Regions from separate parts of the Homo sapiens genome. Here region 1 is linked to region 2. Evidence: promoter capture Hi-C in 16 types of primary human blood cells and fetal thymus (Javierre and others, 2016). All regions are on one chromosome and are shown on one strand. The core of a region is centred on a gene start or on the middle of the fragment in contact, and the rest is flanking DNA. Distances in the headings are between cores, read along the strand shown. Region 1 overlaps IRAK4 (interleukin 1 receptor associated kinase 4). Region 2 holds the start of ZCRB1 (zinc finger CCHC-type and RNA binding motif containing 1).

What was found. The method cuts DNA at HindIII sites, captures the fragments that hold promoters and counts their contacts. A CHiCAGO score of 5 or more calls a contact.
Region 1: a contact is called between a fragment that was not itself captured here and the fragment with the promoter of ZCRB1 in region 2, in 1 of 17 cell types (fetal thymus). The highest score is 5.5, in fetal thymus.

Annotation. Positions count from the first base shown.
Region 1 is chr12:43,761,669-43,765,392 of GRCh38, forward strand. The region is part of intron 1 of IRAK4 (interleukin 1 receptor associated kinase 4); the gene reads left to right. Among named protein-coding and RNA genes, the nearest start is that of IRAK4, 4.6 kb to the left of the region's middle. The HindIII fragment of the contact is 3,443 bases long and covers 1-3,091 here.
Region 2 is chr12:42,324,486-42,328,263 of GRCh38, forward strand. It overlaps ZCRB1 (zinc finger CCHC-type and RNA binding motif containing 1), which reads right to left and starts at 1,609. Exons shown (of 8, transcript NM_033114.4): 1 at 1,439-1,609. It overlaps PPHLN1 (periphilin 1), which reads left to right and starts at 1,682. Exons shown (of 10, transcript NM_201439.2): 1 at 1,682-1,744. RefSeq lists an enhancer at 1,305-1,354. The HindIII fragment of the contact is 1,786 bases long and covers 856-2,641 here.

The DNA.
Region 1 (3,724 bases), core at 120-2,619, 1.4 Mb after region 2:
CCCTCCACCCCTGCACAATCTTTTCCTCTGATCAAAGTGCTAATGAAGCAGTCTTAAAACTTTATTAACACATTTGACAAGAATCTTTTGCCCTCCTGTTTTGGGCACAGTACTTTGGGAAGGCATTGGATTCCATAAGCAGGTGCTTATTTTAATATATTTCTCAATCACCACCCCACCTTTTACACTTGTCTGAATTGTCTTACTTGAAAATATGAATGGGTTTTCTTTACTATGAGAGTTAGTGGTATGAGGAAACAGTCATGAAGGTATTTACTTATTTGTAAGCAACATATCCTGTTCCACCTGTGTTAATCCTAAGTGTACTAAAGTAAATCTTGAAGAATTTGAAAGAGATGACACTTTTTAAGTTTTTTTTTGCCCAGTCTGTTTTCATTATTGAAAATTCAGAAAAGCAAAATGAAAACAAAACTATCATAAAAGTCATCACCAAGGGATAACCACGTTAATATTTTGGCTTATGTTCTTGTAAGTATGTGGTTGGGAGTGGTATATGAATATACATTTAAAGTAAAATTTTAATTTCTGGGATTTTGAACTTCTGGGCACATGTGTGGAGGAGTTGCAGAAGGCCTTCTTTTTCCTAGTATCCCTACACTTATCACCTCTGCTGGAAGCCTGGGTGCAGGAGAGCTACCAAATTTATCCCTGGCCTTTAGATAGTCTGGGTTTTTTCCTCAATTCCTTGTATTTTGCTCTAATTTATAAGACTACTAAGCAGTTCTATCTTGTCTAGCTTTGTCAATCATGTTGTACCTTACAGTAGAGAGAAATCTTAGTAAGGAAAAATAACTTGAAGAGAGCAACTGCAGAGTCTATAGGCAACCTAGATACAATTTCTTAATTAAAGTTAAAAAGTCATCAGCCTTTCATTCAACACAAATGTTGTGAGTCGTTGCTGAGGTGAATTTGGTTGGGTCCTAGCTCAGGAGAGCACCCATCTAACAGAGAAAGCAAACACATAAACAGTAAAACATAATAATTATTATAACAGAAGAATGACTAGGTGACATTTTGGAGCAAAAGAGATGACAATCAGGGGAAGCTAACAGTGCCTTTTGAATTGGGCTTGAAGGAATAATAGGCATTTACCAGGTGGCCTTTAAGGTATGTGGGCTATTCTTTTACCTGGCCCTAGATGACTTCATTTCCTGTTTCACAGAAAAAATAACAGTATGTGGGAACTCTTCTCCCTTCAAATATATCTGTATTTAAACCTCTGCTTCCTTCTTTCTAGATTCAAAAGAGGTTTCTCTCTATTCAAGGCTGATTTCTTCACCCTATATGCTATTCATTATCCCATTTGTATTGCCAAACAGCTTAAGTCTTAAACCCTTAACACCAACAGTTCTCAAAAGTCTGGTTGGAGTCCCTAATGCTCTTTCAGGAGATTTGTAAGGTCAAAATCATGTTTAGTTAAAAGATTCATTCAGAGTGCAATGGATTTTAATGTTCCAAGTTAATTTATACAGCTTCAGATTCCTCATTGCAGCTTACCTTTAGGAAGTTATTTCTTGTCAAATTTTAGTGTAGTATCAAAGAGAAATATCTACTACTTTGTGAAAAGGCTATTAAAATACACCTTTCTTTATAACTATATGTCTGTGTGAAGCTGGATTTTCTTCATATACATCAACCAAAACAACATGCTGCAGTGGGTTGAGTGCAGAAGCAGATACAAGAATTCAGCTCTCTTCTATTAAGTTAAATATTGAAGAGATTAGCAAAACTTTAAAACAATGTTGTTCTTCTGTTTTTGAGGAAAAGGTAATTATTTTATTAAAATATATATGCTAACATCTATATTTATGATTATTTTAAATGAATTAATAAGTAATTTTTAAGTTTCTCAGCATCAATTTATTATGGTAAATATTGGTAGATATAACCAACATAAACAAAAGCCCTTTGGGGTCTACAATAGTTTTTAAGAGGGTAAAAGGTCCTGAGACCAAATTTGAAAACTGCTACTCTCTTGCATGCTCTCCTCCCTCTCTTTCCCTACCCCTCCACCCCCATTTTCCCTCCCCTCATACTCCTCTCTCTCTCTTTCTCCTTCCCTTCATAACCAGACTTCTTGGAAAATCTGTTTTTGCCATTCACTCACTTTTTCACTATAGCTGTTCCCAAGTCACCAATGGCCTTCTGATTTCAGAGTCTAACATATCCATCAGTGTCTATTTGACCTCTCTGAGTCTTTTATACCAACCTGCCACCTTTTCTAGAAGTCTCTGGTATGCTACCATCCTGGTTTTTTTCTTGCCTTCATGACTAAGCAGTATTTTTTAAAATTCTTCTTTCACATCATTCCTTTCCATTCTAAGCATTCCTAATAGGCAACCTCATTTTATTGTTGCTTCAACTGTATATGTGTATATGCTCTTAATTTGTATGAGGGCATTTCAAAAAGTTTGTGGAAAAATTGAATTAAAAGATAAAAAATGTAAACTTTGGCTCAGCACTATGGCTCATACCTGTAATCCCAGCACTTTGGGAGGCCGAGGTGGGCAGATCACCTGAGGTCAGGAGTTCAAGACCAGCCTGGTCAACATGGCGAAACCCCATCTCTACCAAAAATACAAGAATTAGCTGGGTGTGGTGGTGCACACCTGTAATCCCAGCTACTTGGGAGGCTGAGGCAGGAGAATCGCTTAAACCTGGGAGGCAGAGGTTGCAGTAAGCCAAAATTGCACCACTGCACTACAGCCTGGATGATAGAGCAAGACTCCAAAAACAAAAACAAAACTGTAAACTTTATTTCTGAACATAAGCCCATGAAGTTCAAGACACTTTTGTAAGCGATAACACCAGCCATTTGGGCCATCCCTAAAGAACTGAGAGTCCTGGGAATTTAACCACATCAATGAAGTCTTTTTTACATTATTAACTGAAGAAAAATGGGTGCTCTATGAAGATTTTTCAAGATTGGGAAACAAAAAGAAGTCAGAAGGAGACAAATCAGGACTGTAAGGTGGATGCCTAATGATTTCCAGTTGAAACTCACAGAATTGCCCTTGTTTGATGAGAGAAAAGAGCAGGGGCATTGTGATGGAGAAGGACTCTGTGGTGAAGCTTTCCCAGGTGTTTTTCTGCTAAACATTTGACTAAAGCTGTAACAGAAAAGCTTTAGTTTAGAAACACTTAGAAAAGCTACTGTTTCTCAAAACCCTCTCTAATAAGCAGATGTTACCATTCTTTTTCCCTCCAGAAAGTCAGCAAGCAAAATACCTTGAGCATCCCAAAAACCTGCAGCCATGCCCTTGCTTTTGACTGTCTGCTTTTGCTTTAATTGGACCACTGCCACTTTGGGGGAGCCATTGCTTTGATTGTGCTTTAGGATCATACTCGTAAAGTCATGTTTCATCTCCTGTTACAATTTTTTGAGGAAATGGTTTAGGATCTTCATCCCACTTGTTTAAAGTTTCCATTGAAAGCTCTGCTCGCATCTGCAGCTGATCTGGGTACAACAGTTTGGGCAGCCATCAAGTGGAAAGTTTGCTCAACTTTAATTTTCAGTCAGAATTGTATAGGCTGAACTAGTTGTCTATGGTGTTCACTGTTGGTTCTGCTGTTAATTATAGGTACTCTTCATTTAGGGCACAAACGAGATGAATGTTTTCCTCGAAAATCGATGTGGATGGTCTGCCGCAGCAGGCTTCATCTTCAACATCATCTCATCCCTTAAAATGAGTTACTGATTTGT
Region 2 (3,778 bases), core at 359-2,858:
TCAGACCAGTCTGGGTATTATTTGGAAAAAAACAAAAAACAAAAACCAATAAAGTATTAACAATCACCGATTTAATTATGCCAGATGTGTACACCTTCCTTACATTTTAGGAAGTTAGGAACAATGACTCCAGCAGGCTGAATTAAGGAATTCCTTTTTCCCAGTCACCACTTAAAAAAAATTCTTTTTTGGTTCTTCTTCTTTCAAGTATTCTTTATACCAACACTTTCAGTGCCAGATTGTATGGGTAGGGAGACGGGTTTTGAACAGATGAAGGAAAAACCCTGAGGCTACTCCTAACTTCCACTCAGACCATGAGCAAAAAAAATGCTCTATTGAATATGTACTGTATATGTACATTACCTGCACCTTGCTCACCCAGGTCAGAAAGAGCATGGGGACTCAGACAGAACCTTAGCCACTGATTTTTGCTAATACACAGTCATGCTATGCTTAATGAAGGAGGTATGTTCTGAGTGTTACGTGATTTCACAGTGCAGACATCACAGGGTGTACTGAGACAAACCTAGATGGTCTAGCCTATTGCTCCTAGGCTACAACCTGTACAGCATGTTAATGTAGTGAATAATGTAGACAGTTGAAACACAATGGTAAATATTTACATAGCTAAACACAGAAAACGTACACTAAAAATATGGTACAATGTATTACACTCTTAGGAGACCACTGTGGTATATGTGGTTTGTTGTTAATCAAAAAGTTGTTATGCTGTGCATGCCTGTACTATGGCTGGGTACCTTTTTTGCTTGTCTTAATATTTTTTTTCTCTGGAGTGGTGTGTTAAGAGGAAAATTTTCTTTTCCCCTTTTAGTATGATGTTAAGGAGTAAATTTAAGCTTTATGTATCGACAATATAAACTTCTTTCGAAACGCTAATTTTGCTTATTGCCAAATTATGAAATGATACATTATATAAATAGGCTTGGTGCCTCGAAGAGACAGACCTGTAGGTATGTGTGTATATGTATATAAAGTTTACAAATGTAATCAGTAATTTTCACATCTTATCTTACAAAGTCAGCAAATTACCGTGAAAATATCAGGCTCAACCAAATTCAAATTTCTGATTTAAAAAGAGCGTGCGGTGTGTATTTGAGATGGGAAGATCAACCATCACAAATGGAAAAATACTGACTCTATGGCATGCCAATTCGTGAAGGAATGAGAAAACTGCCTCATGTTTGGTGTTATGGGGGAATTATTTAGAAAACTTCAGGAACTCAACATAGATACGTCGCTTTTTAAGTTTCTCATTTGAAACTATGCGTTACACGTTCTGCTGAGAGCCGCGAAGGCAGGCAGAGGTTAAGGTCCTGGAATAAAAAGGGTGGCGGGAGAGAGGGGCAGAGCGTTTTGGCAGCCGAGTCTGGGGAGGGGGCCCCGCAGGAGAGAAGGCCGCAGCTGAGGAGGCGTTTACCTTCAGGTGGGTTGGGCCTGGGAGACCAGAAGAGTGCGAGCCCTCGGCTCAGCTGGGGCTCAACCCCGACTCTTCGTAGCCGCTCGCAGCGGCCTTGGCATCACGAGTCCTGGGAGGGGTCAGGCGCGGAGAGCAGATAATAGCAGCCACGGTGCTTCTTCCCGACTGTTTGAGATCCGGGCCCCGAAGGCGGGCCCAGAGGCGAGCGCTTCGCTAACGTCATTGCGCGCGCCGGAAGTACCTACCTGGGATAACGGCGGCGAGCGGACGGCTGCATTTACGGGGTCTCCCGGAGGGCCAGAGTCGGTGAGCGCTTTTTACCTTTCCCAGAGATGGATGCAGAGCGTGTGCGGGCTGCTAAACGGGGGGGAGTGGGCGGGAGTTTTCTGTGTCGGGTCCTGGATTCTCCTGCCTTTGAATTGTGTGACAATTCTGCCCATGCGGTTGAGGGTGGAGAGACGCAGTGGAGTTTGGAATAAAGGGAAGTATTGAGTCTAAGATAGGGGTTCGCCTCTCTGTAGCGCCTTAATATGCAAGAAGACGACTGAGCTAGGTAACTTCAGTGACCCGAGAGGAGTCAGGAAGTCGGTAATTTTACTGAAGGTGTTCACGGTACCCAGCTATTAGGCACTTTGGGAACTACAAAATAAACAGACCTTTTATGTTTTGTTTTGTTTTGTTTTCTGGTGAAGATCTCAGTCTAGTTGGGGAGACGAGGTCAACTTGGGGAGAGTTGGATTCACAGAATGACTCATCTTTAGTATGGGTATGGACAAGTGTTGATCTTCTTGGCACCTTTTCTCTTCCTGTAAATCTATAATGGCTACGCACTGCTTTTTCTCTAAGAGGCCATAACATGCCCACCATTCCTACAGAAAAATCAGAACGTAATGCAAGGTAATTTATACTTCTGCCTACCAGCACATACAGACCAGGCCTCTAACCACTCCCTGGGAGCCTGCGTTCCAGCAGCCTGGAACCCACAGCCTCTCCTGGAGCCTGCACAATCAATCCAGAGTGAAGCCGATGTCTTCTATAGAGACGGAAGTACAATCCATCCAGGGCGCAGCTGAATTTTGAGAGGCCTGAATGCCTCCGTGGCCGACAGGAGACCGCTGGCACTAATTCTCTAGGCATACTTGTGGCCAGCCAAACTTACCATGCTTTACATCTCTGTTATCCTTGGTTACCGCCCAAGATGTAAGCTTCTGTGGTCTTCTGTGCTATAGTCTCATTTCCATGCTGCTTTGTGCTTTCTTTCGACTTAGGCTATCACTGCTTCTTCGTTTCTTCCCCATTTAACCCCTCAACACCCCATCTGTGCTTTCTGAAACCTCTATTTCCTGCTTAAACTATTTTACATATTCAACTTCTTTAGTGAAATTCTCCTTCATCTCCTAACCTTAACTATTGATAACACGTAGATTTTCCTGCCAGCCATTTCAGTTGAGCCCTTTCTCTGACCCTGCATTTAAAGGTTGGGCATGGCTGTAGCCATGTTGAACGGATTTCAATTCCTCAGAATACTTTCTTCCCTCAGTATCTTCACAAAGGCTCTTTTCTCTCTCTGGGACATTTGAGCTCCCTGTTTCCTCCTATCTTTTTCTGGATAACTTCTATTAAAGATCTGAGTTTAGCTGTCACTTTACTTGAGGGGTATACCCTAACTTCCATAGAGTTAGGTATTTTTGCTATGTACTCTTAGCTGTCCTGCACTTCCCTCACGGCATTTATCACATGTATCTTAATTGCTTCTTTGCCATCCCTACTAAGCGAGACTGTCGGTGAGGGACTGTGTTTGTCTCGTTTATCTTTGTAACTCCAGTAGCTAATACAGTTCTTGGCACATAAGACAGTCAGTTATTTCTTGAATGATTGCAGGTGCTGAAGGTATGCTGCAGAGATCAGGCAGTTAACGTTAATGAATACTTCACCCTTAGAAGGGGTCACCTGCCACTCAGCTACAGCTGATTGTGGCTATGTGAGAATATGATCCCAGTTTTGCCAGAACATCTAATTTTTTCAAAAAAAGTTGGAAATACCATTTTTTAAAAAGCATCCTCTCCCAGTTTTTAAATGTTGTCAGTGGAATAGAATTTTATTAAAAAAAAAAAAGTGGGTCAAACACAAGTCTCATATGGCCTATCAGTCACTAGTTTGGAATCTGTTTTAAGTCTTGTAGGGTTTATATAATGGGCTTTGTGGAGAATAATAGGTTTTGAGTTGGGCCTTGATGGACCGTTGGATGTTGAATGAGAGAATGGAAAAAGATATCCCGTTTGGAAAATAAACAGCTCCGTGGTAGTATGTGTTAGTCTGTTTGTGGCACAGTAAGGAAAC